Regions from separate parts of the Homo sapiens genome. Here regions 1 and 3 are each linked to region 2. The links are contacts of gene promoters, found by promoter capture Hi-C in blood cells and fetal thymus (Javierre and others, 2016). All regions are on one chromosome and are shown on one strand. The core of a region is centred on a gene start or on the middle of the fragment in contact, and the rest is flanking DNA. Distances in the headings are between cores, read along the strand shown.

Region 1 (3,336 bases), core at 228-2,727, 360 kb after region 2:
TAGGTGCTAGGTGTATGGAAATTAATAAAACACAAGAAGATGAGGACAAAAAAAACCTTGAGGCCACATTGAATATTAGGTCAGGATTGGAAAGGATCTCTCTTTATAGCAGCCCGAAGTGACCAATCCTCAGAAAGTAGAGCCAAAGAAGGTGTGTCTAGGTAGTTCGCTTTAGGAAGAAACTCAGGGGAACAGGAGTGGAAAAAGGACAACAATGGAAAATGAAAAAAGAAAACAAATACAAGGGTACATTGTCAAGCTTGCCACTGCTCTGGCAACAGGGGCAAAATTCTACTTGATTCTTTGATGCAGTCAAGTCTAACTTAATTCAGAATTTTCTGCTCAAGGAATGGTTCTAGGTCCCACGCCACGATGATCAGAGTTGCCACATGAAGTATTAAATCCCTCATCCTCCCATATTTGTGTATGAGTGATTGCCAGGGTGTTCTTTCAGATCTCTGGTTGTGGTCTTCAAGAACTCCTATAGAAGAAATGTATACACTGAACAGCTGAGCAATGTGGTTAGGTTACTCCTGAACCCAGCTGCCTGCTGGGCAATGAATAGGGTACAGGAGGATTGAGAGAATGTGAGGCGTAACACAGGAGGTAAAGGATATTGTGTCAAATAATAGGGAAGCTCAAAGTAGAGAAACTTAGCTGGATCAGCTTAGTGGGGACCTTATGGAGGAAACTCAAGTATTAAATGGGCAGTTGAACTATATGGCTTACATGATCCCTTAAACACTTGAGTTTATAAATACCAATACATATCACTATCTAATCCTAAATTCCAAACTCATACTGTTTCATAATGCCAGGTTGTTTCTTTTTCACTGTTACAGATAGCTCCTGCCTCTTCAGTGTCTGCTTTCATCCTGTGACTTTTCCATGACAAGCATTCTCAATTAAGCCCTTTAGAAGCATTTTGCAGATCAGCATTATAGAAGGTGCCCAGATCTAAGACAGTTTTTTACTGTTAATTGAAATTTGACCATGAATAAAATATGTAACCTCCCTGAGCCCTGGGTTCCATATATGAAAATGCACACTTATATTGCAATGTTTTAAATGGTTAAAACAGCCTAACATGCAGTAGACACTCTAAATAGCAGTTTTATTATCTCTTTACCTGAGGTTGTCAATTCCAAGGACAAGATTTGGCAGCATTCCTGCAACACAAAAATGTTATCACTAGGAGTCACTGGCATGTCATAGATCTGGGTTTCCTCCAAGGTAAGCAGTGAGTTGTGGAACTGAAGGGGATGTGTAGATTCCATAGTTGTCTCTACCACCCTCTTACTACCTTATCTCTTCTCTGCCATCATTAAGATGAAAATATGATTGGGCCAAAGCCTAATCTTTATCATTTACTAATGATCTTCATTAATATGCTGTTATTTCTGCCTTTTCTGATCGTTTTCATTTAAAAAATATGTTGGTGGTAGCAAGGCAATCTGGACCAACCGTGTAATTGACATTTTGAGTCATTGGGTAAAATATTTTACCAGTGTGCTGTGCTAGGCTCTAAGTCTGTGTTGAGGCCATGCTAAAATATCTGGCCAAAACAGTAAACTAGGTGAACAATGTAGATAAATGACATCATGGGGACAACATTTCCAGATAATCTACTGAATCACTGAGTGACATGATTGACGTTTTGGTTTTCTATAGACACGGAGTCTTGTTTTGTATCTTCACTGTTGCAATAACAGAGGAGAAATCCATTTCTTTTTTGGAAGACTGTTATTACTTCAGTGGAAAAAAAATCAATCATTCACAGTCAGAAAACCTGGAGTCTTCACCTACAAAATTCTAACCACAGTCCAATCACTACAACTCTCTAAGACTCAGTTTTCTCGTTTGTTTTAACAAGATAGGAATAATACATTTTTTTACTACATTGCTAGCTCCTAGCATTGGTGTAAGGATCAAGTGGAGTAAAGTAATAAAAAGTATTGTGTAAACAGGCAAATTTCTTTAACAAGTCATTTTGTTTTCTCGTACATAATTGTTTTGTCTTTATTCTTTATTGGACTTTTGAGGATTTGGATGGTGTCCTATTTATCTTTGAAATCCAGTTGCCTAAGTATAATGGTTGTCACATAGAATATACTTATTTTCAATTAAAAACATGCTTCTAAGTGAATGAGTTTGCTTTCTTAATTTTATATACATTTTAAGTTTTCAATGACCCACAGGAGCATGGCAAGTGCCCTGAGTTGTACTTCTTTCACACCCATGGAAAAAAGAGCCCATTAAGGATAAATGCATCATCTATGATCATAATTGAAAGTGGTACAGCAACTACTGCAGCCTGGATTCTCCACCTGTGCCTACTTTTTATGCGTAACATTTAACTTTTCTTATTCACAAAAATGGCATAGTTGGATATCTTTATTGCATACTTTTTGAAAGAATTTTTGATGTTAATTAAGAATTTCTCTCAGATCACAATACATACCATCAGAACTGCATATTTTTATTATGCCCTAAATATTTCCTCCTCACCCCTAGACACCGATAGGAATATGTGCTTTTTCCCGGTACTTCAAATGCAATATGCTGTGTTAAAATTAAACTAAAAATAAATTTTGGCTTTTTTGTGCTGATTTTGTCTCTTAGATCCAACCTGTTTATGTCTCTTCCTTTTATCATACACTTGGCAGCCATGACTGTTCTGGTACCTTAAGCTTGCCCACAAAAGCAAATCTCTTTTCTACTGCTACAGGGAGCCTGCTCCTTTGCCTGGTCAGTTCTCATCATGTGGCCTAGAAACCTCACTATTGTATTTTGTTTCTTTTTAATCATCACCAATTTTACCAAATGAATGTTGTTAGTAGGCCAAATGTGGCCACTCATGCCTGTAATGCCAGCACTTTGGGAGGCCAAGGTGGGTAGATCACCTGAGGAGTTCGACACTAGTCTGGCCAACATGATGAAACCCCATCTCTACTAAAAATACAAAAAATTAGCTGAGCAGGTGGTGGGCACCTGTAATCCTAGCTACTCGGGAGGCTGCAATTGAAACTGGGAGGTGGAGGTTGCAGTGAGCTGAGACCGTGATATTGCACTCCAGCCTGGGCGATGAGTGAAACTCCATCTCATAAAAAAAAAAAAAAAAAAAAAAAAAAAAAGAAAGAAAGAAAGAAAGAAAGTTGTTAGTATAGTTTTACTATTTGCTGATATCTTTACTCCAATCTGTGATTTCTTGAAACGTAGGTACCATTTTGTTTTGTTTTTGTTTATATTTCATTTTCCTCTCTTTGTCATACCATCTTCCTGAGAACAGTTTTGCAATAGGAGATATTTGATTCATCAAACTGCTAATGTCTCTTA
Region 2 (3,551 bases), core at 909-3,408:
GGCATCTGTTTGTTCTTAAGTGTGAATCACTGGGTCCCCTAAAGAAACCTCACTGCTTCAAATTAAGATGGGTGGTGAGTGCAAATATGGATTTAGATATGCCGTAGTATTTTTTCCTTATTTTTTTACTTAATTATATATCTTGTTGACACTTTATAAAAGCCAATGCTATAGAATGTGACAACCCTCCAAATTTATTTTACTTTTCTTTTCCAGTTATTCATGGACTGATACAATATTTGTGACTCAAACCACAACTTTACAGTATTTTCAAAACAAATATTGATATACATACAATTTCAGTGTACATATTCTTAGAAGTTTCAATGTTTTAATGGATAGTCAGTACATGTAGAGAAAGCAGGAACAAGCTATCATTTCTATTATGTGGCAAGTATTTTATACGTAACTCATGAAGAAAATATTAAACTCACAATGGTTAATTAACTTTGCTAGGTGAGTAAGAGGCAGAGATGGAATTCAAATTTAGATCACCATGATGTCAAACCTACCCCCTTCCTATGACACCGGGGGAGAGTGTGTCCCAAAGATATGTAAAATCAGGAGCTGATAGTCCGTGGCATCATTCGTGCCATAAACGGCAACCACAAGTATAGATCTGTGAAGCATGCAGACAAATTTCCGTGTACTTTGCGGCAGTTTCAAAAATTAATTTCCATGGCCTTCTTTGTCATGGCTTCACTATACCTACTTCCCTTAGCTCCTGATTCTTAGTTAGATGATACCCAGATGAGATAATTGAATTCTCTGTTTTGTGTGGCCGTTACATATTACAGGGTAATTCATATTACAAAGAAAAAAATTAAGGATGAAATAACTTCTTTCATTCTTCCTTCAACAAGAATCCCTAAATATATCATAACAGAGATAATGTCACTGCTATGACTACAGCCAAAAAGTAGATAGGTATGGACATTACATAGGCACACAAAGTCCCTTTCACACAGGAGGGAGTTTATAAATATCAGGTAACATTTACAGTACAAGACAATAAAACAAATTATTTATTTGAAATCACAATGCCACATGTAGCTTTTGATCAAACATAATCCAAAGGTAAACTCAAAATCAGTAGAAGAATACTGACTTTTCACTTATCACTGTCCCTGCGCCTTCAGCAAATAATACTCACAAGGCTACAGAAATCTTGGATTTCTATACAGATAAGAATTTTTGCCTGGAGAAACAAGGTAATTCAGAGTGCAGAAAGAGCAAGCCAAGTGAAGTAATTCCCGCAGAGCAGAACAAATGGCACAAATGACCTAATCAATACAGAAATAAGTACAGATTTCCTCCACAAATGGCCACATGGTAGCTTCCCTAACAAGTTCAGAAAAACATCACACTCCTTTCATGTAGATCTTCTTTACCATTTATCGATGTACCTCATCAGGAATACCTACATTTTAGCTGTCAATTCAATATATTAGGTAAATTTACCCAGTAAAATATATAAGCCCATTCAAGTTTGTAGGTCTGCTTCTGTCTCAATGCTGTAAATGCCTTGGCTAACAGTGCAAACTGTTTGATCCCTGCTTAAGCCTAAGGATCCAATCAATAAATGATGAAACAAGTGATATCTCCTCATCCTTTCTTAAAACATAAAAAACAGTCTATTTTCACAGCTAGATCAAAACAATGAGGTAATGTTTTCAGTGATTTTTAGAAAAATTGATTTTAGAGCTCTCTTCTCTTGCTAGATCCTTTGGGCAAATCTTTTATTATACAAATGGCCTTCTGCTGGATATAACCATTGGTTTTATCTGCAAAGTGAACAAGTCACAAGTTTACTGTAATTTTATTTGAAATCATTCTTAGTTCTTAGATAACAGTCCCAAATTGCTCCTGGAAGGATGCTAAGACTAAACTCTCTACAGTATTACTAGACAAATCTAGGAGACCTCTGTGAATCACCACCAGAACTACAATCTTACCCAAAGCTGAGTCACATTAGTAGATTATAAAATACTGCATGGAATCTTGTGTACACATAGAATTCTGAATCACCTATGAATACCCACATCTCTTTTTCAAAGTCTCTACTGCCCATCCAAGCTTATAAAAGGTCAAATCCTGCTGTCTGTGCAAGGAGTGCCTTCTAGAAACAATGACCTGCACTCTGTGTTCACAGATGGCCTCTCCTCACAGAACCATTGATGTGGAAGCATTCATCATATAGAGTATAGCTGTGTTGAAAACGGATTCCAATTATGCCTGAACAAAATATCCAAGATAACTGCCACATCATGAAAACATTCTCAACACTGGGAGGGGTTTTATGGGGATGCTTTAATTATGTGAGGCCTATGCAATCAAGAAAAAATAGTGATAAGGACATAAGAAACTCCAAAACTATGATCACCAGAAAAAAATGAGTACCAAGAAATGAGGTAAGAAGTTTATATTTAATTCTTAGAACAATCCCCTTTTAGAAATGAAACAGCTGAGGTTTAGAAAGCTTAAGAAACTTTCTACTAAGTTGCAGAGTTGGATCTGAGCCCAGGTCTGGGAACCCAGATTTTCTTTTCTTAACCAACTATTCTTGATAAGAGCACCTTCTAAAAATTTCACTCCTGTTGGGTAGCATTAGTGCTTACTTTCAGCGCTAAAGAACAAAGCATAGTTAACATTTATGAACAAGCCAATAAAAATGGATGCATGAATATTATACAAAAAAGTGTCATTAAATAATGGAAATTATAAACTGGAAGAGATCTTAGATATTATCTGGCATAATCCTGTCGCTTACAGGTAATTTCAAAAAGTAGGTTCTTTCTCAGTATTTCAGAGCAAGGTATTTGAACAAGAGGCAGGTCAGAGGCAATATATATTTCTCCAGACATCTCTCTGCCTCCAAATATCTAAATTGTTTTTGCTGCCAATGAAAAAATAATGCATCTTTTTCTTTAAAAAAAGATTATCCTTCAGATGACCTACAGATCAAATCTTTTATTCCTCTGTGGTTTTCCTACAGAACCATTTAAATTTCATCTTCCTCTGATCACAGGCACTATTTTTAATTTATTAAGGATTAACAGATTTTATAATATTTTATCATTTTTTTCTGAAATAATTTTCCTGTTTCCTTTCTCAAACACACAAATGTGGAATCTCACAACAAATTCAAAGAATAACTTGTCTTTTGATAAACCTAATTTTTAATTCTAAATACGTAGGCTGGTTCATGTATTTTCTATACTTTACTCTGATCAGGTACCTTAAACTGTGGATTCAGTTCACAATCCCAATGTAATTTCAACCATTTACTTGCAGCCCTAGTAACTAATACAGTAAATGTATGATTTAATGGGAGTGAAAAAGAGAATATGACTGGCTCATACTAATTTCATATACATTTGTCTTGGTTGATGGTGTTTTTTCTTGTTGGAGAGCAACCTAAATGTTGGTTTTACTTTGTGGCCTATTCCCACCAACAGAACTTTCCTCTCCACCAAAGCTTCTCAGTGGTGCTCACTCTTCCATGTTTGTTTTCTGGAAACAATATTTTTCTACCCTCAAAGTGTACGCTC
Region 3 (3,307 bases), core at 40-2,539, 340 kb after region 2:
GTTGCAGTGAGCTGAGATTATACCACAGCACTCCAGCCTGAGCAACAAGAGTGAAACTCTGTCTCAAAAACAAACAAACAAACAAAAAAACCAAACACACCAAAGAAGAAACAAAATAAAAATAGATAATGTAAAATGATAAAGGATAAAGGTAATATATACAACTTGGACCCATCTATCATCATCACAGTATGTATTGATTTAAATAAATAACTCAGATATCTCAGATATTGCAAGGATAAATTGACGGAAATACAATGGAAGCATCCACTCATAGCATATTATATGTATCATGAAAATAAGAAGTAGATTGTCTGAATACAATGACTAATAAGGTTGATTCGTGGATATATTTGAAAATGTTACACTTTAATAAAAGCTTTCTTTTTAGCTACTCACAAGGAATTTAAAAACTTATTCCTATAGAAAGCCTTAAAACAAACCTTAGTAATCCAGCCTAATGAAATGCAGTAAGAAAATAAATTGGCAACCCAAAAAGGACCAGCTATAAAACCATAAATATCTGTGAAGGTAAAAATGAAAACAAAAAATAAGTATGTTAACCTTAAATAATAAGATTCAGAAAATATGATTAAGTTTAGAGTTTATTGAAGGGCAAAGCTTGAGGGTGATCACCTGTGAAGCACCAACCTCAAATTGGGTCAGTGTTCCAAAATAAAGAAGTTAAGGTTTCACTTATATAGGCAGAGACAGATAAATTTTAGCAGGATTACAACATTTCCCACACAAGACCAGTGCATGTTACAGGAATTCTATTGGTTACACGTTGCTACATTCCAAGAAAGATAACTGTATTACTCTGTGAGGACAGTAGTGATCAGAAGGGGTATCATCTCTGGTACCATTTGGTCTTCCTAATTATTTGCAGCAACAAAAGGCAGAAGTTGCAGCTGCATGCCACCTGACTCAGGCCACATAGCCACATTTCTCACAAGGCTTCGAATAATTTAAAGTTTCAACAGCTTTACATCTGAAATATTTAATTTCAGAAGTGTATATCTTTTGCCAAAGATAAAAACAGAAACCACAGAAAGATATAATCATAACATGTTTGCTGTGTATATTGTCAGAAATGTGAATATTACAATCTTTTGACATATATGTATGTATGTATTTTTTATAAACAAGTTTTTAATATTAGCCTAGAAAAGAAAGCTGATCTTGGTTCCTGAGACTGAGATTTATAGCAACCAGTGATATTTAGGCAAAGCACTTCCAGTATCCCTTCCAGGGCTTCACTAAGTCTTTTCCGCACTTCTCAAAACTCCAAGTTTCACTGATTTTCAAATTCCTCCCCTTTGGACACTAGTTTTCTGCTGTTTTTCACACTCTGCTTTAATGTCACAGTGGTTTGCCTCACTTTTTTTCAAGTTCTGTTTCACCTTTTAAAGCACCAAGCTAAGAGTTTCTCTTCACTGCATACTTAAAAAATGGATAGTTTAGAATAATAGACAATTTCCATAAGTACCATTTAACCATATAGCACTTATAGTTACACAGTGTCTTATGGTTAAAAATAGGCATTATTAATAAATATTCCCTGGTCACATAAATTTACAAATTGAGCACGTCTTCCTGAGAAACCTGACAGAATCTGCAAATTGCATATAATTCCCGAGGACTACTTTATGTTGGGATAATATATGTGGTATTTTATTTTTATTTAACAGGTATACAATTAATGTTTTCACATATTAAAAATACTAACCATTGAAAGGGAAATAAAATTTTACTAAAGTCTTTCCTTTAACCCCATTCATTAGATAACAAAATACCGAAAATATGTCTGTATTTAGTTTTTCTTTGTTTAACATTTTAAGATTATGTTTAACATTTAAGATTAAGAAATGTTTAACATTTTAAGATTATATTATATATATATATAAGATGTATATATATATCTTCATTCCTGATTATTGTTTTCTAGACAAGCTTTACAATCTCCCTGCTTTAGAAAACATTCATATGTTACTACCCACCTTCCCATTTTCTCCCTTCTAACTTCTAATCCCAATATTGTTGGATATATTACTATTATTTTCAGAGATTGACACTTCTAGCATTAAATTCTAAATTTAATATTTATTTCTTGATTTATCAAGCTTTGAAAATACCTACTAATTTTGTGCTATAAAAGAGAATGGAATAAGGACTTTATTTCTTTCATCTCTCTTCCCCCTTCCTATTACTATAAATATTGTATTTTACATTTACAAGGTTTATAGAATATACATTCTATTTCATTAAATAGCATTGAATTATTTGTGGTTTGTCGGTACTTTGATTTTCAAAAAAGAAAGCAATAATAGTATTCATAATATTATGATTATGTACATGTACATCACATTCATACAATAATGAAATTGTGTAGTTGAAACCATGTAAAAGAAAATGCAGCCTCACATCTTACAAAATTTCGAATTGTATATGTATTTCAGTGTGTTAGAGTGTATGAATTGTATATGTATTTCAGCGTGTTAGAGTGTATGAATTGTATATGTATTTCAGCGTGTTAGAGTGTATGAATTGTATATGTATTTCAGCGTGTTAGAGTGTATGAATTGTATATGTATTTCAGCGTGTTAGAGTGTATGAATTGTATATGTATTTCAGTGTGTTAGAGTGTATGAATTGTATATGTATTTCAGTGTGTTAGAGTGTATGAACTGTATATGTATTTCAGTGTGTTAGATTACACTTTATTTTTTGCTAGCATTCCCATTCTGCATTATGCTCAATTGTCATTGTTTATTTTAGCTCATGTTACCCCTGAGTTAAATTACTTTTAATTTCATTGAAATTACATCCTGATGAATATGTTTTTAAAATGTACTTGGCCAGGCATGGTGGCTCAAGCTTATAATCCTAACACTTTGGGAGGCCCATGTGGGCAGATCATGAGGTCAGGAGATCGAGACCATCCTGGCTAACACGGTAAAACCCATCTCTACTAAAAATACAGAAATTAGCCAGGCGTGGTGGCATGGGCCTGTAATTCCAGCTACTTGAGAGGCTGAGGCAGGAGAATTGCTTGAACCTGGGAAGTGGAGGTTGCAGTGAGCCAAGATCACACCACTGCACTCCAGCCTGGGCAACAGAGCGAGACTCCTGCTCAAAACAAACCAAAACAAAAAAATGTACTTAGAGAATAATGAATGTTGTAACCTTTTTCATAAATAAAACATCTTTATTTTGCCCTCATATTGGATTGGGGATGAAACTCTAGGTTTAAAGGTGATTTTTTTTCCCCCTCAGAATTGAGGACTTTTAAAATTATTTTCTGTAT

What was found. The method cuts DNA at HindIII sites, captures the fragments that hold promoters and counts their contacts. A CHiCAGO score of 5 or more calls a contact.
Region 1: a contact is called between a fragment that was not itself captured here and the fragment with the promoter of ARPP21-AS1 in region 2, in 1 of 17 cell types (fetal thymus). The highest score is 8.1, in fetal thymus.
Region 3: a contact is called between a fragment that was not itself captured here and the fragment with the promoter of ARPP21-AS1 in region 2, in 1 of 17 cell types (fetal thymus). The highest score is 5.7, in fetal thymus.

What each region holds. Positions count from the first base shown.
Region 1 is chr3:35,289,909-35,293,244 of GRCh38, reverse strand. The region is part of intron 2 of LOC101928135 (a long non-coding RNA gene); the gene reads left to right. Among named protein-coding and RNA genes, the nearest start is that of ARPP21, 350 kb to the left of the region's middle. The HindIII fragment of the contact is 2,431 bases long and covers 262-2,692 here.
Region 2 is chr3:35,650,568-35,654,118 of GRCh38, reverse strand. ARPP21-AS1 (ARPP21 antisense RNA 1) reads left to right here and starts at 2,158. Exons shown (of 2, transcript NR_046679.1): 1 at 2,158-2,411. The region is part of intron 1 of ARPP21 (cAMP regulated phosphoprotein 21); the gene reads right to left. The HindIII fragment of the contact is 403 bases long and covers 2,079-2,481 here.
Region 3 is chr3:35,308,019-35,311,325 of GRCh38, reverse strand. The region is part of intron 1 of LOC101928135 (a long non-coding RNA gene); the gene reads left to right. Among named protein-coding and RNA genes, the nearest start is that of ARPP21, 330 kb to the left of the region's middle. The HindIII fragment of the contact is 1,332 bases long and covers 624-1,955 here.